7 separate regions of the Homo sapiens genome follow, and all the other regions are linked to region 1. The links are contacts of gene promoters, found by promoter capture Hi-C in blood cells and fetal thymus (Javierre and others, 2016). All regions are on one chromosome and are shown on one strand. The core of a region is centred on a gene start or on the middle of the fragment in contact, and the rest is flanking DNA. Distances in the headings are between cores, read along the strand shown. Region 1 holds the start of FST (follistatin). Region 2 overlaps ARL15 (ARF like GTPase 15). Region 3 overlaps ARL15 (ARF like GTPase 15). Region 4 overlaps ARL15 (ARF like GTPase 15). Region 5 overlaps ARL15 (ARF like GTPase 15). Region 6 overlaps ARL15 (ARF like GTPase 15). Region 7 overlaps ARL15 (ARF like GTPase 15).

Region 1 (3,242 bases), core at 714-3,213:
AGCAGAGGGAATGAGTTGGAGGACTGGAGGGAAAGGGAGAAGGGGAGAGAGACAGCGAGACAGAAACAGACAGAATGATTCTGGAAAGATTAAGAAGGATGTGGAGCCCCCACAGCCGTCTGAAGTGAGCAAAATCCAGTCTCCCCCGGGCCGCCCGAGCCCCTCCCCTCCCGTCCTCATGACGGTAATTATAAAGCGAAAAGCGGCGGCGAGGTCACCCGCTTTTACCAGCCTGCTGCACCGAATGCGCGCGGTGCAGGTGCGGCGGCCGCGGGGCTTTGTGATTCATGCCCACTTTCAAAGGGGGGCTTGGGCCCGTCTGAGAGGCACCCAAACAACTGTCTTCTAATATTAGCACGGCTGTATTTCGGGATCTATTATAGTCTGTCCAGACAGATCCCATTGTAATGGGATCTTTTATTAAAAGATTAGCACTATCTCCTGCAGTTGGTGGAAAAAAATCTGTTATCACTGAGTTATTTGCAGTTGTGGAGGGGGGAAGGTTGACGGAAGATGGGGGGTGGGAGGGCTAGAGGAGGACTGGGGGAGGGTCTGGCGGGGGGAGGGCAGTTGCAGGGGGGGAAGAAGGGCAGATTTGAAATTCGTAGAACAAATCCCAGTGACCTGCGAATGTCCAAGAATTTTGTCTGCATACTTCGCTATCTGTTGTCCTTCGGGCTTCAGATGCGAAAAGAACAAATTTAAAAGGCAGCTTTGGAATAAACAATATAGCATTTTCCGTGAAGTAATCGTTTTATATAAAAGGAAATATCGCCTCCTCAGTTTCATTCAGCGGTGCCAAAAATGTTATAAATGAGAGACCCGCCAACTTTCAGCGAAGAATGCCAGGCACTGTACTTAATAAACTGAGGCTACAGAAGTTCATTATGGATGTTGCAATCTTTTTTATTCCGCGAAAAGAGAGAAGACGAGACAGAAAGAGAGAGAGATTGGAGCCGAGGAGACTGAGAGACAGACAGAGGCACACAGGACAGAAACTGGGGAGTCTCCAGGCGGGAGAGGAAGGGGGGGCCAGACCGCCTACGTCGGCGCCCCCGCTCCGGGCTCCGACTCCAGACGCCGCGAAGTGAAAGGGGAGAAAAGAAAGGGAGAGGGCGAGGCTGTGCCGCGGGGAGACCGGGCCTGAGGTGTTAAACATTTTTGTTTGCTTCCGACTAGTCCAGACGAAGGGCCGCGTCTCGGTAGCGCTCTGCCAGGGTGGAAGGTGCCGGGGCCGGGGTTCCTAGCAACACCTCTGGGCTGGGGGTGGCTGCAAAGTCAGGCACTCACAGACCCAGACACAAAACCTCGCGGGTCCCGCGCCCAGGCTGCGGGTGCCCGGAACCGCCGCGAGGCCGGCGCGCTCCGACCCGACCCGGGGCGGGATATTTGGGCAGCCCGGGGCTCTTCGGCCGTTTGCAAAAGTCTCTTTGGAGCGGAGGAGAGGCAGCACGGAGACAAACTCCCGGGTTCCCCCCGCCACCGCCTCCAGCGCCCCCACCGCGCCCTCCCTCTCACACTCGCGCGCGCGCGCACACACACTCACACACACACTCACACACACACCCGCCACCCCGGGCGCGCCGGCGCTGCCGGCGAGCGGCGGCGAGCAGGACTTGAAGTGGGTGTTCTTCCCCACTCCCCACCCCCGACGCGTAGCCCCCAACCCCCGCCCCGGTCGCCTTCCCCCTCCCTCTCGCTCCTACGCAAATAAGAACTCGACGATTCCCTTCCAGCCGTTTTGATTTCGGGCACCTCCGAAAGATAATTGGGAAGGGTTTCCAGAAGGTGGGAAATGTCACCTGATTCACACTGAACTTTTGAAAGCTCCCCACCCCCAAGGAGCCGCGCACACCCTCGCTCGCGGCCGCCCTCCCACAGCCCCACACACTGGGAGACCGCCCACCGCAAACCGCGGAGACCCCCGTCTAGATTTAAAGCGCGGCTGCGCCCGGCTTCTGACGTCCATTGAATCGCGCGGGCGGCCGGCGGCGAGCGCGGGGCTGCGCCGGGATCGCTGCGCCCTCCGCCGCTGGCCTCTGCGACGCGCGCCGCTCGCCCGAGCCACCCGCCGCCGCGCCGGCTCCCCGCGCCGCTGCGCTCCTCGCCCCGCGCCTGCCCCCAGGATGGTCCGCGCGAGGCACCAGCCGGGTGGGCTTTGCCTCCTGCTGCTGCTGCTCTGCCAGTTCATGGAGGACCGCAGTGCCCAGGGTAAGCGAGTGGGGATGCGCTGGGGAGGCTTGGCTGAGGACAGGGGGGTCGACTTTTCTGTGGTCTCCACTTGGTCTGTTCTGAGCAACGCTGCTCTCGGAAGATGTTGAACCAACTTGGGGACTCCGGGATGGAGAGGAGTGGGAAAATTGTAGGCAATGACACTTTAGGACTGGGAACTGAGTTTGGAGCTCGGTTATCTTGAAAAAGGAAAGGGAGCGAGCTGGGGTCTTAGTAGTTAGGGTTAAATGCTCCAAGTTCTGGCCATGATAACTTTAGATGTGATCTCCTCTGTTTGGCTCTGAAGAAGGGAACAAGTATCAGTAGTAGCCTGGAGATTTCAGTCGACCCATTTGCAGTCTCATCTCTCTCCCTCCCACATCTTTTGGATACTTAAAAAAAAAAAAGGAAAGAAAGAAAAGAAAACCTGGGGGTTTGGGGGAGAGATACTGAATTTTATTTGGTGGCTGGGGGACGTGGTTTCAGAAACTTTGCCCAAACTTGGAAATGTGGGTGCTGAAGATTTTCAAGGGAAGTAGCTTTCTGCCTAGTGGATGCTTCTTCCAACCCCATCCCCCATTCTCGCAAAAAAAAAAAAAAAAAAAAAAAAGCCAAATTATTACCCCAAAGTGCTTTGAGCACTTTACAGTTTTTTTCCCCTCTGCCTCATTCTTCTTTCTGACCCTTAGCTTTCTGTAAAACAGTGAGCAGCCCATAACTGACTTAAATTCTGAAATGGGTTAAGAGCAAATTTCTGAAGCTTGCCTTTTAAAAATAGATTTGTTTATTTCAATTAGTCTTTGGGCAGAATGTTTAAAATAATAATAGCAGCTTGCGATCCAATGATTGTTAAAGTCATATTGGTGATTCATGAGAAGTCTTCTCGACCCAAATCCGAACATTAAAAAGGGGGAAGAGGGAGAAATCACTTGCAAATATTTCTTGCTAGGTATGAGATAGGTACTTATAACCGTGAAATGGTAGGAAGACTCCCCCCTCCCCCCACCTTAAGGCATTACTTTCCCTGCTTC
Region 2 (3,447 bases), core at 162-2,661, 690 kb after region 1:
TAGGACATCTTGGGATGAGAAAGAAGAAGGGACAGAACCCCAGCACAGTACCCACCTGTGGTCGACACGACGTTATCGGGGCTTTCACTGCAGAGTTTGGACAACAGACTGGTTTTGCCAGAACCTGTGAGGCCTATGCAAACCAGGTCATATTCTGGTCGTGCAGGTGGTGGTCCCTTGCAGCAAAGTGCTCTAAAACACTGCCAAAAGAAGGGGAAAAAAATGTTCCTTTAAATGACAGTATGGAAATAAACCATAGTCACATTTAAAATGACTGAGTAAGTATTAAGAGGTAATTGAATAAAGTATTACCTATAAGGAAGAAAACGGTAACTTTAGAACAGTGAAACCTGGAGACACCACTCTAGCCAAGTGATCAAAGTTAACATTCTTAGTTATGAAATGTTTTTCTACTTCATGCCTCCCTTCCTGCTATGGCAGGTGCACTGCAAAAAGCATGACATCATCCCACAGCTTGCCTGCCAAAACCACACAATCTGAATCTAAGCATGAGGAAACCAGATAAAGCCAATCTAAGGAGTATTCCATAAGGCAACTGGCCTGTTCTCCTCCAAAATATCAATGTCTTAAAAGTCAAAGAAAGACTGAGGAACTGTTCCATGTTAAAGAAGACTAAAAAGACATAATAATAAAATGCAATATATCTTGGACTGGATCCTAGATCAAAAGGGGAAAAAAAAAGCCATAAATGACATTATTGAGACAATAAGTGAACACTGAATATAGACTGCATATTAGATAAGAGTACTGTATAAGGTTAAATTTCCTGAATTTAATCAATGTACTGTGGTTATGTAAGAAAAATCATTGTTCTGAGAAAATATTCTAATTATTTATAATACCTCTAAGTATTTAGAGGTGAAGGGTCTTGATGTCCACAATTAACTGGCTCAGAAAAATCTAAATCTCCAGCTCCATCTTTATCTGGTGAGGAGAGTGACAAAGCCAACATGGCAAAATGTTAATGACTAGTGATGCTGAGTAAAGAGAATAGAGGAAAACTCCTTGTTCTGGTCTTACCACTGATATTATTTCAAAATACAAAAATTTTTAAAATCATTAAATAGAGTCTCTATACATACCACTGCCTTTCTGGCCTTTGCTAAATTCTTTTTCAGGTCAATCAACCAGGGTACTATGAACTGTAGTATAGTTTGCTCTGCAAGAGTTAAAGACAAGGGGATCTGGGCCAGGCACAGTGGCTCAGGCCTGTAATCCCAGCACTTTGGGACCAGTCTGGCCAATGTGGTGAAACCCAGTCTGTACTAAAAATACAAAAAGAAATTAGCCAGGCATGGTGGCAGGCACCTGTAATTCCAGCTACTCAGGGGACTGAGGCAGGAGAATCACTTGAATCTGGGTGGCAGAGGTTGCAGTGAGCCAAGGTCACACTATTGCACTCCAGCCTGGGCAAAAAGAGCGAGACTCCATCTCAGAAAAAAAAAAAAAAGAAAAGAAAAGAAAGAAAGAAAGAAAAACAAGAGGATTTGGGAGACAGGGTATCATTTGTGCAGCTTTTGATCTTTCTACTTATCCCATATCCATAGGGGCCAACTATGTGCCAGCTTATAGAGCCTGAAACATTTAGACCCTGAATGATTCATGAGAGAAAGAGGGAAAGGGGGAGACAGGGAGGAAAGAAGGCAGATCCACTCACTTTTGGGTCATCTGGAGATTACGAGAGAAGAGACCTATAAAAAAGCCTGTGTTGATTCATCTCACTCAGATAAAATCTGAGTACTAATTGGCTGTCATACTCTCGTAAATCAAACTTGATTATTTCTCTCCCTCATTTCTCACATCTAATCAACAAATCTAGTTCATATGACCTCTGAAGTAGCTCTAGGATCTGTCCACTTCTGTCCAGCCCAGGCCATCATCACCTGAACAACATCAATATCCTCCCACTAGTTCCAGTATATTTGCTCTTGTGCCCCCTATTCTCCACATTGCAGTGACTGGATTGCTTATAAAGAGAAAATCTGACCATACGTGCTTAAGCCACCCCAGTGACTTTGCCCAGCTCTCGAGCCCAAACCCTTACCATGGTCTACCCCACACTCCATGATCTGCTCCAGCCAAGCTCACCAGCCTCATTGCCCTCACTCCCCTACATCCTCCAGCCATGCCCTCTCTTACCTCAACTGAGGCATCTAATATGCTGTTCCTTCTTCCCCCAATTCTGGACTTAGCCAACACCTCATCATTTTTAGGTCTCAACTTAATCATCCCATCCTCAGGGCAGTCTGCTCCAATCCTAAGATTGTGTTAGCAATTCACGTCCAGCTCTACTGGGCTTTTATAAATTCATTACACAGACAATTGCAGTTTCTTATTCATCACCAGCCTGTGAGAACCATGTCTGTCCCCCTTCATCTCAGTACTCCCAGTGTCTAGCAGAGAACATGGCATAGAATCTACCCTCAGCAGATAATTGTTGAATGAAGAATGAACGACACTTAAATTTTACCTAAGCAAAGAAAAAAGAAAACATAGAGACTAACAGGATGCTTGATCTATGTTCTCTGAGCCCTCCACGCTTCAAGAAAATACTGTCAAAATAAGAAACCGCTGACTTTTTCACTTCGCTTCAATGCCATTAGTTAGCCTAGTTCCCAAAAGAGTGGTTTTGGTGTACAGGATCAACTTTCTTGGTAAATTAGAGCTTCTTTTTGTCCTAAATTCACTTTTCCTCTGTTCTCAAGAGGTTCTGCCTGCTTCTGGTAAACAATTCTATGACCCATATTCTTCATGGGTTTATTCATGCTAATTGTATTTCCTCTCAGTCTTTTCAAGCCTGAGGAGTCCTACTTATTTCAGTCTGTCTTCATCCTATGAGATGTTCTTCTCTGATCTTCCTTTAGTTCCAGCACACCCTCTCCCACAAGATTAATGACCATAACTACTAACAGCATTCTAAACGCCAACACATCACTTCATGGATTCATATGAAGGCTGGCTGATACTGTCTGACTTTAACAAGCTTTTTTATAAAGTCTGTCTCCCAGACTCAGAATGAGAGTTTTTCTCAGAGATAGGTTTATTTGTGTATGTGTCTGTTCCCTCAAAGATGGCCATGGCTAGCAGCTGTTCAGACTTAGAAGTGGTCTTCCACATTCAATTAGGACAGACAACAAAACTAGTCACACAGTTTCTTTTACTGGGCTGCGTTGGTCTTGTTTGGGGTTCAAGGAGGAGAGATCCCATTCCTGCCCTAGAGGCCTTCATTCTCACTCAGCTCCTTGCCAGAATTCCTCTGGACTATCTCCTGGAGGAGGGCTGGCCTGACTACCCTGGCCCAAACTATCATAAACCTTAAATATCAAATGAAACTGTATGTGAATGATTGCTAGAGCATCCGGTTTAAATTATTCATGTCGTTATCACTCATATTTTTGCCAAACACTCCAGAATTTCATCTTCATG
Region 3 (3,536 bases), core at 998-3,497, 710 kb after region 1:
GACAAAAGACAATAATGTTAATCTGTCAACACTACCCAAATGGATTCAATGCAATCCTATCAAAATCTAAATAATTTTTTTATGGAAATAAAAAAGCCCATCCTAAAATTCATATAGAATCACAAATGACAAAACAATCTTGAAAACAAAGAACAAAGCTGGAGCTCCAGACTTACACATACAGATTTCAAAACAAACGTCCGGTAATCAAAAGAACATGTTATTAGCATAAACACAGACATATAGACCAATGAAATAGAATAGAGATCCCCAAAATAAACCTTTGCATATGTGGTCAAATGATTTTGGGCAAGGGTGAAAAGATCATTCAGTGGGAAAGAACAGTCTTTTCAACAGATGGTGCTAGGAAAACTGGATATGCACACACAAAAGAATAAAGTTGTACCCTTACCTAATGCCATATACAAAAGTTAACTCCAAATGAATAAAAGCTTTAAATGTAAGACCTAAAAGTATAAAAAACATAGAAACATAGAAAGTTTTTTCTTAGAAAAAAACACAGGGCAAATGCTTCATGACATTGAATTTGGCAATAATTTGTTGGACATGATACCACAGACACAGATGAAAAAAGAAACAATAGGCAAATTGAACTTTATCAAAACTAAAACATTTGGTACAACAAAAGAAAATGTCAATAGTGTAAAAAGTTAGTCCATAGAATGGGAAAAAATATTTTTAAATCATATCTCTAATAAGAGATCAATGTCTGGAATATGTAGACAACTCCTAAAACTGAACAATAAAAAAACTGTTCAAAAATGGACAAAGAATTTGAAAAGACATTCCTCCAAAGAAGATATACAAAAGGCTAATTAAGTACATGAAAAGATGCTCAATATCACTAATCATCAGGAAAATACAAATCAAAACTACAGTGAGGGCTAGGTGTGGTGGCTCACGCCTGTAATTCCAGCACTTTGGGAGTCAAGGCAGGTGGATCACTTGAGGTCAGGAGTTCGAGACCAGCCTGGCCAACACGGTGAAACCCCGTTTCTACTAAAGATACAAAAAAATTAGCCAGGTGTGGTGGTATACACCTGTAATCTCAGCTACTCAGGAGGCTGAGGCAGAAGAATTGCTTGAACCCAGGAGGTGGAGGTTGCAGTGAGCCAAGATCACCCCACTGCACTCCAGCCTAGGTGATAGAATGAGACGTTGTCTCAAAAAAAAAAAAAAAATTACAGTGAGATATCATTAGGATGGCCACTGTCTTAGACTGTTCCTGTTGCTCCAACAAAATACGTAATTTACAAAGAACAGAAGTTCATTTTCTCACAGTTCTGGAGGCTGGAAAGTCCAGGATCAAAGCACTGGCATTTTGTGTCTGGTGAGGGCCTTCTGCTACATCTTCACATGGCAGAAGACAGAAGGATGAAAAGGGCCTAGCTAGTTTCCTGGAAGCATTGGATAAAGGTATTAATCCCATTCATAAGGCCATAGCCCCCAGACTTAATAACCTCCTGAAGGCCTCACCTTTTAATACCATCACATTGGGTCTTAGGTTCCATCATATGAATTTTGGGGAGGACATGCACATTCAAACCATAACAGCTACTATCAGAATAATGGAAAATAACAAGTGTTGGCAAGGATATGGAGAAATTAGAACCCTTGTACACTGTTGGGAAGAATGTAAAATGATATAGCCACTGTGAAAAACAATATGGCAGTACCTCAAAAAATTAAAAATAGAATTATCATCTGATCCAATAATGCCATGTCTGGATATATACTCAAAAGAACTGAAAGCAGGATCTGGAAGAGTTGTTTGTACACTCATGTTCATAGCAACATCACTCATAACAGCTAAAGCATAGAAGTACCCCATATGTCCATCAACAAATGAATGGATAAGCAAAATGTGATATATACATATAATCGATTACTATTTAGCTATAAAAAGGAAGGAAGTTGTGACATATGTTACAGCATGTTTCAACCCTGAGGACATAAGACTAAGTTAAATAAGCCAGCCAGCCGTAAAAAAGACAAACACAGTTTGACTCTACTTATATAAGATAGAATTAGTCAAAGTCATAAAGACCAAATGTAGAATGGTAGTTACCAGGAAATAAGGAGGGGGATACAGGCAGTTATTGTTCAATGGGTATAGAATTTCAGTGTTACAAGATGAATAAGAGTTATGAAGATGTATGCTGGTGATGGTGGGGATATAACATTATAAATGCATTTAATACCACTGAGCTGCATACTTAAAAATAGTTAAGATGGTGAATTTTATATGTATTTTACAAAAATAAAAAAAAATTTTGAAAAAAAATCCCACAATTTATAACTCATCCCAAACCTATTCCTCCTGAAACTTTCCTCCTTAGTTAACAACAGCTCCATTTTTTCAGTTGCTCAGGCCAAAAACTCTAGAATAATCCTTGGCACCCCTTTTTCTCTCAAACCACACATCCAATCAATCAGAAAATTCTGTCAGCAATAGCTTCAATATATATACAGACTCCAACTACTTCTCACCACCTCTACCCTTACCACCCCAATCTCTTGCTTTGATTATTCCAAAAGCCTCACACTGGCTCCCTGCTTTCACTCAAACCTCCGTATAGTCTATTTACAGCACAGTAGCCAGAGTGATCCTGTTAACATATGTCAGATCAAGTCTCTTTTCCACTCAAAATACTCCAAAGGCTCCCATCTCACTCAGGCTAAAAATTAAAGCCCTTATAGCAGACTAAAAGGTCCTATAAAATCTGCCTCCTTCCTCCTTCCTCCCCCACTCCTAATTATTTCTATGACAACATCTACTACTATTTCTTCACTCAGTCAGTTACTCCAAGCAACCTGGCCTTCTTGCAGTTCCTGGCCCACGCTTGGTAACATCCAACTTCAGGACCTTTGCACTTGCCATTCCCTCTGCTTAGAAATCTCTTGCCCTAGATATACATATGGTTCATAGTCACTCCTTTATGTTGTTTGGGTCTTTGCTCACATATCACCTTTCAGTAAGACCTGCCCTGATTACTCTTAAAAACTGCACATGTACCCTAAAACTTAAAGTATAAGTAAAAAAAAAAAAGCCAAAAAAATTGCAACCTTTCCCACCACAACATGTTCTAACTACCTTACATGTTTTCCCACAGAACTTACTGTCTTCTTACTTACTCAGTAATTTACTATTTATTTGTTTATTGCCAGTCTCCCCTCACTAGAACATAAGTCCCATGACGGCAAGATTTTTTACAATTGTTTTATTGAATTATTTCCTAACCTTTTATCATTGGACAGAGGTTGATGGAATTCTATATTCTAGCCGCATTTTTCTTGAATGGAAGGAACATGCATCCTTTTAAATCACATCCTATTAAATTTGGCAAATCTTATACTTTTATGTGACTCCTCCTGTGTTTTGTCTTCCTCTAGAATTATAACACTAAGGTCATGCTAATGACAAAGAGTTGGGGTGGGGGGCGGGTCTAGACAGAGTTTTAAAGTTTTCTAATCTTTACAAGAAGACACAAGAGGAGAAACCAGTCAGTCTGTTG
Region 4 (3,546 bases), core at 1,033-3,532, 670 kb after region 1:
AAAGGAGGGAAGCAGGATTACAGAACCAGAAGTCAGAACCATAACTGAGCAAGAGTTTGACTTGAAAGATCTCTAAATAAGAGAGTGTGAGAGAGAAAATGAATGATAAAAGCAACAGAAATAATTAGAGATTAAGTCCTATAAATGTCTTTGAGCAGAGAGCAAGGTATTCATGTTTTGTCAATATGGTATTTTAGGGATGGGCGCAGTGGCTTATGTCTGTAATCTCAGCACTTTGGGAGGCTGAGGGCAGATCATTTGAGGTCAGGAGTTCGAGACCAGCCTGGCCAACATGGCGAAACCTTGTCTCTACTAAACATACAAAAATTAGCGACGTGCGGTGGCTCATGCCTGTAAACCCAGCTACTCGGGAGGCTGAGGCAGGAGAATTACTTGAACCCATGAGGCAGAGGTTGCAGTGAGCCGAGATTGCACCACTGCATTCCATCCTGGGCAACGGAGCAAGACTCTGTCTCAAAAATAAATAAATAAAAAATAAAAAATGGTGTTTTACCAACACACTGTTAACCAAAAAAAAAAAAAAACCAAACCAACATGTGAAGACTTCAAATCATGCAAATAATAATGATACAAACAGCAGCAAATAACAGGTGGGAGCACTTCTCTTGTGCCAGGCCCTGGGTAAAGTGCTGTAGGTGTAGAGTGCACTGGTTAGGCACAAGAGCTCAGACTGATACCAACCTCCGGCTCCAAATGACCACAGTCAAATCATCATGTCTGGTGTTATCTTATCTGTGAGATAATAATAGCATCTACTCTCTAGGCATGAAGTTGCAAAGACTGAGACTGTGTAGGGGAGAGAAAAGGGAATAAGGGCAAAACAGAAGAAGAAAATTTAGAGCTCCAATTTCACAAAAAGATAGGCATAATCACTGCAGCCTGGAGGGTGTGACAGGTAGTTGAGAACAAGGCATTCTTAAAATAGCAAAATAGAAATGGCCCACCAAACCACTGGGCTAGACTATCACTGTGTCATAATTTACCTTGTACTTCTGCACTTAATTTTTTTCCCTTTCATTTCATTATTTTCAAAATTTTCACTAATTTCCTATTTCTCTTTTCATGAATGTCTCCATCACTGAATGAGGAGTTCCCTGAAGATGAGGGCTGTGCTTAGATCTTTCATTCTCTGCCCATAGGACCATGCTAGACCCATAATTAATTGTGGTAAAATGATCAAGTGAACAGTAAGAAAACACCACATGAAAAGAAATTGATGTGAATGAGAATTTTAAGAATTTTTCAGGAAAAAGATATAAAAACACTTTCACAAAACAGAAAATTGGTAAGAGGAAATAATAATTTTTATAAGTAATATATATTCAACACATATATATTCACACACAAACATATGTTTGTGTGTGCAAACATATAGTTTGTCATTAAGATCCCCAAAAGTGACTTTCACTGAGTGTAACTCCATTATTCATTGTTTCCTCACCCCATATCATTTCTTCTAAATAGATAATGAGCACAGGTTTATGCGCTTCCCTATTTTGAAGAAGTGAGAATTTTAACTTAAGACTGGGAAAGAGTGAAGAAGAGCCTTGGAACTATCTGAAATGGGTAGAGGAAGGACATTAGCAGGGAGAACAGGGGCCATGCTGTTCTCCTGAATTAACCCCAGGATAAGGAGAACTACCTGGGCATTCCTCACTAAGAATTCATCACTGTCCTGGCTCTTAATCTCTATATTTACCACCTATTTTCTTGAGGTCCTCCCCTGAATTCAGAATTTTTCTCTGATTGACAATGTGATTGAACTCTGATTAACCTGTCTTCTGAGCAACCCTCCACTGGTGAATAAAAGCTTCATATCTTCACACATTGATCATAAAACATATAACTCTCTCCTCCCAGAAATTCTCAGTCAAGCAACTCCCTCTCAGACAACTTGATTTCAGCCAGTCATAATTCCCCCTAAGTGCACATACACCTTATTTTGGGATGATCCCCTTCATATCTAGCATACACGTTAACTCCTAGGAAAGCTACACTTTATACAGGTTAGCCTAGCTTTTCATGTGTTCCTGGTTGAGACATAACCTAGTACCTAGCCTCAAAAAATATTTGAGGAAATGACTTAGTGAATGAGCTGTCAAGAAGTCAACTCCCTTAAGTGCTTGCCCCCGAGCATGTGACACAGGATACACAATTGGATTCTACTCAGAAAGTCCCCTCTTCCTTCAGACACTGTGTCAACTGGAAACAGAGCTATTAAAGTTGAGAAAGTAAAAGAATCTATGCATAGGCTAGAAATTTGCTCTTCAATACTAACACATGCCAAAAACTTATGTATCACTAGCCTGGAACGAATGTATCTGCTCTGATCCCTGAGGCTCTGCCTTTTACCTGCATCTCTTAACCTCATTACGAAATAGGTACCAACTAAAACATAACCACCAAATCCTATGGTATCCTCTCCATTGTAATTTCCATTTCAGCAACTGTCAGGGAACAGCTCTTTCGGCAAAATTAAACCGTGCTTGAGAACAGACCTATTCCCACCTTATGTACCTCTAGTCCCCTAACTTGATCTTTCATTGTACTGAATTTTGATGGCACAGAGCCAACCTTACGAATTCCTTGGTGTTCACTTTTTTTAAAACTGTCCACATACAGTTACTGTTTGTTTCATCCAAGTAAACATCATATGTAATAAATGTCTTATTAACCAACCAATAGTTTCTTATACCTGGAAGGTGTTCAATAAAAGCTTTGTGTCCAACCTAAAAATAAAATACTTAGTAACAGCCATATTTAAAACCCATATAACTCTCAAACCATGCATTTACAATGTGTTCTTTGATTTTTAAATATCCATAAGTAATATTATTGTCACCAAGGAATAATCAGCAGAAGCCACAAAGCAAAAAAGCATTTTTTTATAAACCATGCATCTGGAAATTTTAAATAGGAGAAAGATTATTTTGTTTCATTTGAATGTTCTGCCAGCTGCTTGTATTTCTTTTTTGAATTAAATTAAATTAAACTAATTTCTAGACGTTAATTTATCAATAGTTTCTGAGCAACCATTGTATTTAAGGTTTTAAGCATATGGCATGGTTAATATGCCATACATTTATTTTTCTTAAAAGTACAATTATAATTTAAAATACCCTAATAGAACACAGTCTTTTAAAAACTTTGCATAGAAAAATTATTATAAGAACATTCATGTTTTATAATTTTTGGAGTCAAAATGACAAAACCAAATGTCTTAAAGAAAAATCGGAATTTATTGATCATGGTTGTTTTATATATTAATGCTATAAAGCTAAAAGTGAATATGAAATTGACTGGCAGAAGCGAACCTGTCCTACACATAGCGAACTGAAAACAGACACCTGAAAAGATCAGCCAGTTTTTTATTAGATAAAAATAAGAAGGTACCAAACGCTATTAAAATGGCGTAAAGTTGGTGTTACAATCTCATCGAGCTAAAAATAGGTCACAGTTAGAATGACCTTAAGGGAAAATAAACAAAACAAAACAAAACAAGGTAAGGCCAATATCACAAAGTGA
Region 5 (3,597 bases), core at 480-2,979, 730 kb after region 1:
TTGCAAAGTCAACATTCTTCCAGAGTGTTTGAAACTGACAGCCTTTCTTATTTTTTATCTTTTATTTATTCATAGCCTATCTTCTCCCTCAAAGAAGTAAGAAAGCTATCTTTTTCTTACATGGCAACTTTCTCTTCAAAATATAAAGATACACAGTGACTTAGAGGATTATAGAATGCTAATAAAACAGAAGAGCTAAGGAGTTCTTTGAAAAAGGAAGAAAAGGTGAATAAATGGTAGAAATAACATTAATTTCTTCTTTGTGTCCTAATATTTGGCTTGAATACAATGCCAACTTTTTTTTCCTTAATGTCTTCCATGAAAGCTGAAAAGGCAAAGAGGCATAACAAGTAAAATTAACAAAAATATGCTTTTTCTTTGTTATTAAGTATTCTTCTAAAAAGCAAGACATTTTTAAACGTACCCACTTCAAAATATATTGTAAGATTCTGTGACACAGGCATCATTACCATAAAATCCTCCCAATCAAATTATAATTTTCTTTTTCATGAACTATATTTCTTAAGCAAGGCAAGAACATTTTATTAAAAATAATGCCTATTATCTATTTTATTTTACTATAATCCACTCACTTTCCAGCCAATTTGCTCCGAATATTCTCTTGGAAACTTGTACTTCAAGACAATGGCTTCACTCATTACGTTATTTCAACAAAATGATAAATGTATTGTGAAATATATTATATTTGATTATCAAGCTAAAGCATTGCAAATGGCCATCACAGAACCCAAATTCACCCATAACATTCTATCCCCCAGAATAGTCCTCTGACAACAAATGATAACTGTACATGACAAATCCTTTGAGGCATCTGGGCCTTAAAAATTAAAGGGCCATTCTGACTAAAGTATGTTGATTTTCCAAAGGAAGTTTTGTTGCAGTTGTTGCTGCTGTTGCTATTATTTGAATTGACTAATCCTCAAGTAGGTTCTAGCCACCCTGAAGAATATTTACAAATACAAATATATTAGAATTGAAAGAGACCTTATATGCCACATAGTTCAATCTCTTTTCCTTGAGATGCAAAACTGTGGCACAGAGAAGTTAATTCAGTTGACAAACAACTCATGGTTAATTCAGTCTCATAGAACCCAATCTAGTGCTTTTTCTGCAATAACACATTACAGAGTCTGCAAAACCAGCACAATTACTACCTGACACTGTCAGCAAACAAAATGAAAATACACATATTTTAATAAGTAGTTTTTGCTTATTTTTGCAGTCACACATAAGATGTTATATCTTTACACAAAACGAAACTAGGATTATTTTTATTGTTCAAAAGACAGACTGTCCAATTATAGCTATTACTGAACTAGAAATGTATTTTCAGTTTATCTTCCCAAATCAAGTTAGTGGTTTGTTTGGTATGCACAAAGTATTCCAAAATGTCACAGAGTGGGGGCTATTGCAGGGTTTTCTCCTGCTTCCACCAGACCACAAAGGGCAACAAGTTTGGAGGGGACAGGAAGGTTGGGAGCAGAATACAAGGAGCTGTAGAGCTGTTCTATCGGTTCAGGTTTTAAGATCCATGAATAGACCCTACTCACCGAGTGAAAGCCCTGACAATTTTATCTGAGCATTAGAAAATAATTCCTTGGGCAGTTAAAAGATTGGAATATCAAAGAGCTGACATTAGTTTTAGGCAGCGCTTAAATGAAACACTTTTTTTTTTTTTTTTTTTTGAGACAGAGTTTCACTTTTGTCACCCAGGCTGGAGTGCAGTGGTGCAATCTCAGCTCACGGCAACCTCTGCCTCCCAGGTTCAAGCGATTCTCCTGCCTCAGCCTCGCGAGTAGCTGGGAATACAGGTGCCCGCCACCATACCTGGCTAATTTTTTGTATTTTTAGTAGAGACAGGGTTTTGCCATGTTGGGCAGGCTGGTCTTGAACTCCTGACCTCAGGTGATCCGACCGCCTCAGTCTCCCAAAGTGCTGGGATTACAGGCACGAGCCACCGTGACCGGCCAAATGAAATACTTTTATACTCTTATCTTACTTTTAAAAAGAATATGATAATCAGAGAGTTCAGGAAGGAAATAAAGAGGAGTAGATAAAGTCCAAAATGAGGAATATGCTTATCTGGAGCACACCTACTTAACCAGAAAAGAGTAATTTGAGTAGGAAGAAATGCCAAGTCACTAATTTGTTTAAGGATCTTGGTTATTGGTTGATTCCATTAGGAATGTGTCTGGCTACAAGTAACAGAAAATTCATGTTAGGTGCTTTAAACGGCATCACCAAACCTAAAGGGCCAGAGAGTAAATATTTAAGACCTGCAGGCCATATAGTCTCCGTCACAATTACTCAACTCTGTCATAGCATGAAGGCAGCCACAGTCAATACGTGGCTGTGTTTCAGTAACACTTTACTTACAAAAATAGGCAATCAGCCAATGGGTCATAATTTGCCAACCAATGGTTTAACCAAAATGTCAATCCCTGGTTTAAACAAATGAGACTTAATTAAAAAGAAGCTGGCCTTTTTTGTAAGGTAGTAAGAAGGGCACATCAGCTCCAGATGTCACATTTCTGTTTAAGAAGAGGAAAAGGGAAAAGGAAGGTAGAAAAGGGAAAAGGCCACATCTGTCCCTTTTCACAGGAAAGCAAAAACTTTCCCCACAGAACCTCAAGCAGACCCCCTCCCCCATAAGATCACTAGTCAGAACCGAGCAACACAGCCACATCTAGTTGTAAGAGAAGCTGAGAAAACAGGGAACACAGGAGTCTAAGTGGCTTAGACCAATCATGGTTCATTCATTGCCTGGGGCTAGACACATTGCTGCCTCAGACCAGGGTATTTTAGCAAGAAGGATAAATGGCTATTGGGTGTACAATGAACAGTGTTTGTCCTGTTGGACTATTTTTTCTGTTTTCTCTATTGGCATAATCTGCTCAAAGAAAATATGCTTTCTTAGCTGTGAACTAATTAGTCAAATGGAGATTGAGAAAGATTAAGCATGTTTGGTGGTAGGGGTGGGGAACAAATAAGAGTGAATCTACTGTTAGCTACCTAAAAGTAGTGATTTAATGGGGGGGAGATGCAGAGTGAGAAATCTGAATAGCAGTCCTGCCAGCCCAGTTTTATGACCTTAGCCAAAACACTTAACCTACCCATGCCTCTGTTTCTCCAACTGGAAAAATAAAGTTGTTAAATTAGATGTCTCTAAGGTCCCTTGACACACTAACATCCTGTATCTCCTTTAAATATGTTGTCTGATCAAGCAAACATAGCATAATGTATCCAGTTAAAATTTCCTCCTAAAAATAGTAATGCCCAAATCACAAATGTGGAGGATTCCCAGGCAGAATAAAGTTTTAAACCAAAGAAGAAAAAGGATTTTATTGAAATAACTTTTCACACATTGCTAAAACACTGGCATTCCATTCAACCCTTCCAATTTCTAAGAAAACACACGTGTAAGAAGGGTAGTTAACTTTTTTAAAACACTATAAATGTGTCTTGTAAAAATTATACTGTTTCTTACAACAAACTTAAAATAGTTCTCAAGTCCAAAATGGTAACTGTTCTAGCTAGACGACTAACTGAGGATGCTCGAGTCACCCCCTCCACTGC
Region 6 (3,614 bases), core at 151-2,650, 640 kb after region 1:
ACCATGTGATACCTTCTGCACGTTTTGATGCAGCAAGAAGACCCTTGCCAGATGAGACCCCTTGAACTTGGATTTCCTAGCCGTACCGAGCCAAAAAAAACTCCTATTGCTTATAAATTACCCAGTCTCAAATGAACCAAGATACTTACCTAGAAAACTAGCACAAACTATCACAAATATACTAATACTTGTCCAGAAAACTAGCTCAAATTATATCACTACTCTGCTCAAAAACATTAAGTGCCTATAACTTGAAGTTCTCAAATGACTTGATTTAGCATTTATAGTTCTCCATAATCTGGCTCCACTTTGCCATTCCTACCATGTTCCTCTGTTGATCTCCTTAGATACTCCACAAATGAGCAAAACGTTTTGCTCTCCTGGACCAGACCTAAGGTTTCCACCCTTATGCATTTGGTTTTGTTATCTCCTTTGCCTGGAGTTACTACCGTGTGAGTTGTCCCCTTAGTTCTTGTAAATTCAAACCACTACATGCGCTTCAGGGGCCAGATCAAATGTTGCCTACTCCACCAAGCTTTACCTGATCTTGCAGCTGGGAATAATTTCTAAAAATCTTCTGGTCTGTTTCTCTTGGTTCTCCATGTAACACTTTCTACCCTGTAGCATAGTAATCTAAATGCATAGTTCATCTTCCTGATTACACTGGAAGAACCATATGGGAGTTTTGTGCATTTTCGTGTCTGATTCATCACCATACTCTGACCACATCTAACCCATAATGGAAACTCAATAGTTTTTAAAGAATTAATCTTTTATAGAATACTTATTCTGATTTCTCAAAAGTAGAATGTAGAATTTACCAAGCAAATCATTCTTTGCTATACAAATAATCTATCTTTTTGGTTGATGGTGGTGGCTTGAGTAAAGTTATTAGCAACTAATTTTTATGTTTCTGGTACATACCCAGTTCTGCAAGGAATCTCTCATTCAGCATCTGATATTAAGAATTCCTTAAACATATTTACAATGAAACTTCACTCTACTCATAGGCCTTTCTCAGAGTCCTGTCGTAGTATTTGAAAACATGCAGCCATAATACAGCACGTGCTAAGCACTGTACTAAAACCACAAAGTACATTAACCTATGTTCCTTGGGATACTTTTTGATTCTATCCTATTTATGAACCTTTATACTGTTCTGATGTCCAACAGAATCAGTACCCAAGAGAAACTGAAAGCATAGAAAGAAAAAGCTGTGGGAACAGTTCTGGAGAAATGTTCCCTTCCGTACTCCTGCAAAAGCCAACAGCTGACTCCTTAGAAGAACCACAGATGCCAAGGGGATCACAACTTGCATAGTTCCAAATGTTTTTTAAGCAGCTAATTCTTGAGCCATTGGCATGACACAAAAAACAAAACACTTTTGTGGTATTCTAGAAAATCTGGTGGCAAGACTAGAAAAGCTAGTGGGAACAGCTTTGCTGCAATTGACGTTGACCAAAGCAATAAATTGGGAAGAGCCAAAATGGAGACTTCCTGGCTGACAGAAAGATATTTGTTGCATACCCAGGATGAAATAAGATCTTTTAATAATGCGGAAATGCTACTGCTTTCTAGCACAACTTGCCAATTTCCCCAACCAGTATTTTTTCTTTTTTATCAGAAACTTTAACGTACCAATCCTGTGACAAAACTGATAAAGATGCAAGAGGTTCTAGATTAAGACAAACTCACGGAAAAAGTTAAAAACCATCTAATGTCTCATCCTATATAGCATAAAGTATAATTAGAGTCACATACTATAAGCCTTGATGTTCAAAAGTGGAATAGTAAATTTGTCCCTCACTTTGAGTGTTTTTTCGTCTGTGACTAATCAGACCTCAAAACAAGTTATTACCATATTTACTCACATAACAAAATTGTAAGAGAATTATGCTTGCTCTGCAATATATGACTGCACTCACATTTGCTCTTTCATCTTTTAACTGTCTCTATGACATTCTTTTTGGAAATGCTTATCAGAGCTCTTAAAATGAGAGTTCCATTTCTCCACCTGGCCCATTCCCTTTGATCTAGTTGTTGTCCCCCTATTGATGACAGAAGGCCACCCAGCATCATGTTCAGGCTCAAGCATAAAATAGTGAATGGCAAAGAAAAAGTCTAGATTTCAGGGAGGTGACATCAATGTTTAATTTTATAATGTGCATATCGAATTATGTAATTAGATAAGTCAATGCACTTTATAACTCATAAATAAATTTGGGCAGCTCTAAGTTTAGGGATCAAGTATGTTCTAAAACTTTCCAAAGCTTCTAATTTTTTTGAGAATTCAGTACACAATTTTCCTTGAAAACAAAGCAGTGAATCTCAGGAGTGAGATTCAGCCCTGAAGGACAGAATGATGGTAGAGTGATGAACAGCATGGACTCTTACTGAGTTCAAAGCCTGGCTCTGCCACATATCATCTAAGTAACATGAAAACTCCGCTTAATTGTTCCAAGCCTCAGTTTCCCTCTCAATAAAAGAGAGGAAAATAATAATACTTAATTACCTCATAGGATTGTGAGGATTAAATAACTTTTTTCACACAGTACGTAGAATATGCTAACTGTTCACAAGTGTTAACTGTCATTTTGTTGTGGATGTTACTATTATCATTTGTCCACCATTTAAGCCTATAACTCACAGAACTACTGAACGAAGAACTAACTCAAGTTAGCTCAGTACCTGGAAGTAAAAGGCTACCAGATGCTGAACAAAAGAGGCAAAGAATAGATTTTCTGTAATTCCTGAGAAAACCAATGTTATAAAAAAATAAACCAAAGTTTTTACTTGGGACAGACCCTTTCTTTTTCTGTTCAACTAACTTTCTCCTATGTCCTGTATCACCTTCAGACTCAGTATTTTATAATCTCCAGTTTCTTCCTCCCTCATTGCTGTCTAGATTTCTTCCCTTGACTAACACCAAATAAGAAATTTCTCCCCTTCAGACAAAAACGCATGTTCTTTCAGTACAGGTGTCTTCAACTAGACATGAACACAAACAGCATGATTAGTCGTGTTAACATTCAGGTGACACCCTTATGAAAACCAAAACTGATCACTAATACAAACTGGTTTTGTCCACATGTGCACGTGCATGCGTGCGCAATGTGCGTGTATACGCATACCTTTGAGAGATGATGTTACCTACAAGGCTGACATACAGTATACATACACATACATATAAAGCTATTATTACACTTTATGACATTTCTCTTTCTTTTGTTATAAAGCATAGATAACCAAAAATTGGTACTATTTTTTTCAGCGGCTTGCATGGTTGCACAAATAAGAGCTCAGGCAGCATGGGTTAAGGCAGGGGGTGCCATTTGTAGGCAAGTACTCTTCTTTTTTTCTGTCAAGTAGATTTTTAAATAAAATATAATTGAATTGTGAATACAAGAAAAGCAAACACAAATCTAAGCACAAAATGGGCTTTTTCTTAATAATTCTTGTAACTGTTTATAACCCACTTTTTCAGCCTTTTCACAGCTTTTGCTTAAGCATTCTAATTTCACTGGTTACCTGTCTCCATAGCTCTACTAAATAATTTTTATAAAATACCCCAAGATTCTCATTTGTGCTGTTCATCACTGTGTCTCCAGTATCTA
Region 7 (3,153 bases), core at 325-2,824, 610 kb after region 1:
AACCCAGTTGTGGGCCTTCTCCTGGACCAGTAAAACTCCATCTGGTATGGGAAGCTAACTGTTCCCCAGGTGGTGTGCCCACCTGTCAACTGACAGTCGGGCTTGTGCCACTAAGAACAAGGGCAGACACATTTTGGCACAGACCTTTGGAGCATTTCTTTAACTTAATGGCTGAGCAAGACTTGAGATGAAGAGATGAGGAAACACAGAAAAAAAAAAAATGCAATGGGCCCTGCTGGTCCCAGGCATCAGCTAGGGAATCTAGGTCACGCCTACAACAGGCGTCTGATGGGGTATACCATAGAGGGCGGAGAGTGGCAGGGAATGGTGCCAGCCTCTGCCTTTCTGGGCTTGCCAGCCCTTGGCAGGGATTCTGGAAAATGAGACATCCCAAGTCAAATGCATTTCCGCACATTCCTCTCCCTCTCCTGCCTCTAGCTACTTACATGTGGTTAATAGACTGCTCAAATTGAAAACACACACACACACACACACACACACCACCACCACCACCACCATCACCAGGATATGGAATCTATACACGTTCGTTCCGGAATGTTTAGGTTGAAAATACACGTACAAATATAGTCTCCTGGTGAAGCTCTGTGCTATGTATTTATTCCAAGTGATGTCCACAATCTTTTTGGAATTCTTCTGGCATCTGGCTTTAGAATCCTTGGCATATTCTTGTCAATACCCTCAGGTGATGAAAGATGTTTTATTCTAAAGAGTACATTTTATTTACCAGGCTTATGGAATTAGATGCTCCATCAATCCATATTGAATATAAGAATAAATGGATGGGTGAAACAAGCACATACCTATAGTTCTTAGACAAATTCCTAATGAAATGAATGACCAAGCATGGAATGTACAATTTTTTAATTTTAAAAAAGCAAACAAAAAATAAAAAATAGAGATTTTCTTGTATGGCTCATATGGTAGAACCCAGAAGACCATTTCAGTGGAACAAAGGAGACCACTGAAATAACCAGAGAACCACTCAAGGTGATCCTGGATATAGGGGCTATTAACCTTTTAATCTTTGCATTATTCCTTAAAGCGTTTAGATCCATTTGCTCCTTGTCTTCTCCTATCCTCTAGTCCTGAAATCACCAGGGCACCAAGCCTCGAGAGGCTGCTCTCTCCCTTACTGGGCTGGGTTTCTAAGATATCTCTGACCAGATCTCAGAGATAACTCCAATCCAGAGGATCTTTAGGCGGATCTTTATTCTGCCAAATCCTACACTGATACTAATTTTCAAACTTAGATGTATTTTAAATAGGAAAAGAAGACCCAAATTATATCATTTTAACTTACCTTATTTTTTCCTGTAAAACAATATATCATAAATTTTAAAAGTCTCTGTGCTTAGAAGAAGGTGGCATTCATACATTTCTGGGGTGTCTTTTAAAGAGCCTTATTGGTCCATAGTTACATCCCATACACATATATATTATAGGCACATTTACATGCAGACATATAAAGGAAGTATTCATAAAGGATGAGTGATGAACAAACACAAAGCCATGCTTTGATGTTAAAGATGCAGTGCTTCACTGTTGAGAAGGATGTGTAATTGAATTCTTGGTAATCACTGAGAATGGTGTCTATTGTTGAATGTAGAGTGCTCACAGAAGTCTTGCCTAGGGAGTTTGCTCTGTTCTAAGGTGAATTCTCCATAGCTCAACTCAAACATGAAAGGTGTCCTGGCATTGAGCCAAATGCCTAGGCCAGGGTGTTCTCTGGATCCTGCTGGGGTCACTGAAAGACCAAAGAAAGCACCCCAAACCTGGCCTGACATGAACCGAGAAAACTTGGGCAGCATTTGGCCCCAGGGTAAGGATGTGACAGAGCCTGCTCATTCTCCCTGCACTCACTTTGGCACACATTCAGCAATGCTCTATTTGATTGCTACCTTTCCCTAATAAAGAGCTAGGCTTTTAGTGGATGTTCTGATTCTCATAATGCAAAGACAGAAGGTATGTGTGAAAGTCTCCAGTAACACTATGCTTCCTGCACATAGTCTACCCATTAAATGACTGACTTGGATTTCTTGCAAAGATTGAATGCTGGAGGTAATTTAATAATTTAAGTATAATATAAACATTTAAAGTTAAAAAAAAAAAAAAGAAAAAAGACTGATCTGGGTTATTAAACTTTTTAAATATGAAAGTGATTTCTGAAAAATGTGCAAAAATGACTTTTACTCTTTTCTTACTTAAATACCATTATCATACAATATTCAAGTGATTTTGCTATTGGTGGGAAGTTTAGAATGCATCCTGATGAATATCAAGGATCTGCTATAAAAACAGATTCTCTTAAATATAATTTATGTGCATGCAACACACACAGTGTTTAAAATCCACATTCTTAAGTGCAGATGTGTTTTCAGTGTGGTCTCAGAGTGAAGGTTTCTATACAGGGTTTAGTCTGAGAAACAACTCGGGAAACAGATGAAAGGCATTTCAGATGATTACCCTAGAGACACAGTGGTTCTCAAGACTTGAGGCATATAGGCCATCCTGGGCTAGTAGACAAATTTTTGACATTTACCACCTGCTTAGCAAATGTCATACCAGTTCATTTTGATACTCACCAAATTTGTGACTTCCTAGACCAGACCACGTAGAGTCTCATATGGCTTTTATTTGGATTGCCTTAAAAATTGCCATATTTTCCCAATACCTAATAGTACTTCAATTTCTTAAAATACAGAGGAAAAAAAGAATAATTTTGCTAATTAAATCCTGTCAGAAGTACATGAATTCTGTTTTAAAACAACAATATTAAAGATTTTTGATTAGGAATAAAACATGGAAATTCCCAACTAAGATATAACATAGCACAAAAAAAAAAAACCAGTAATGATATAGAGACTACACAAAGGTAAAATAACAGCAACAAAAAAGGCACTGGGGTATATAATTCATATATGTATTTTAAGTAACTATTACCATTTTCTCTTAAATGCCCTAATAAAATAAAGCATTTTAAGATATGCTATAATACCTTAATAATAATTCATTACCATTATCTACATGATTCATTTTACCTACCTCTAAAAGAGAATTACTATCACTTTGCTATAAAGCAAACAGTTCTGAAAACTACCCACTTGGAATGCTGTACAGTGACCAGGCCTGGGT

What was found. Contacts are between HindIII fragments. The CHiCAGO score rates a contact against its expected background, and 5 or more counts as called.
Region 2: a contact is called between a fragment that was not itself captured here and the fragment with the promoter of FST in region 1, in 11 of 17 cell types (M2 macrophages, megakaryocytes, M0 macrophages and 8 more). The highest score is 12.4, in M2 macrophages.
Region 3: a contact is called between a fragment that was not itself captured here and the fragment with the promoter of FST in region 1, in 9 of 17 cell types (megakaryocytes, M2 macrophages, endothelial precursors and 6 more). The highest score is 10.7, in megakaryocytes.
Region 4: a fragment that was not itself captured here is called in contact with the fragment with the promoter of FST in region 1 in 2 of 17 cell types (megakaryocytes and M0 macrophages); the score reaches 7.4 in megakaryocytes.
Region 5: a contact is called between a fragment that was not itself captured here and the fragment with the promoter of FST in region 1, in 16 of 17 cell types (M1 macrophages, megakaryocytes, total B cells and 13 more). The highest score is 23.1, in M1 macrophages.
Region 6: a fragment that was not itself captured here is called in contact with the fragment with the promoter of FST in region 1 in 1 of 17 cell types (M1 macrophages); the score reaches 5.2 in M1 macrophages.
Region 7: a fragment that was not itself captured here is called in contact with the fragment with the promoter of FST in region 1 in 2 of 17 cell types (megakaryocytes and M1 macrophages); the score reaches 6.7 in megakaryocytes.

What each region holds. Positions count from the first base shown.
Region 1 is chr5:53,478,666-53,481,907 of GRCh38, forward strand. It overlaps FST (follistatin), which reads left to right and starts at 1,964. Exons shown (of 6, transcript NM_013409.3): 1 at 1,964-2,211. The coding sequence starts at 2,127. RefSeq lists an enhancer at 3,197-3,242. The HindIII fragment of the contact is 5,217 bases long and covers 1-2,969 here.
Region 2 is chr5:54,171,729-54,175,175 of GRCh38, forward strand. ARL15 (ARF like GTPase 15) reads right to left here. Exons shown (of 5, transcript NM_019087.3): 2 at 56-200. Among named protein-coding and RNA genes, the nearest start is that of ARL15, 140 kb to the right of the region's middle. The HindIII fragment of the contact is 3,181 bases long and covers 1-3,002 here.
Region 3 is chr5:54,189,207-54,192,742 of GRCh38, forward strand. All of the region lies in intron 1 of ARL15 (ARF like GTPase 15), which reads right to left. Among named protein-coding and RNA genes, the nearest start is that of ARL15, 120 kb to the right of the region's middle. The HindIII fragment of the contact is 3,595 bases long and covers 451-3,536 here.
Region 4 is chr5:54,150,322-54,153,867 of GRCh38, forward strand. All of the region lies in intron 3 of ARL15 (ARF like GTPase 15), which reads right to left. Among named protein-coding and RNA genes, the nearest start is that of ARL15, 160 kb to the right of the region's middle. The HindIII fragment of the contact is 906 bases long and covers 1,830-2,735 here.
Region 5 is chr5:54,209,782-54,213,378 of GRCh38, forward strand. All of the region lies in intron 1 of ARL15 (ARF like GTPase 15), which reads right to left. Among named protein-coding and RNA genes, the nearest start is that of ARL15, 99 kb to the right of the region's middle. The HindIII fragment of the contact is 5,856 bases long and covers 1-3,597 here.
Region 6 is chr5:54,119,329-54,122,942 of GRCh38, forward strand. The region is part of intron 3 of ARL15 (ARF like GTPase 15); the gene reads right to left. Among named protein-coding and RNA genes, the nearest start is that of MIR581, 170 kb to the left of the region's middle. The HindIII fragment of the contact is 1,735 bases long and covers 534-2,268 here.
Region 7 is chr5:54,091,573-54,094,725 of GRCh38, forward strand. The region is part of intron 4 of ARL15 (ARF like GTPase 15); the gene reads right to left. Among named protein-coding and RNA genes, the nearest start is that of MIR581, 140 kb to the left of the region's middle. The HindIII fragment of the contact is 4,752 bases long and covers 1-3,153 here.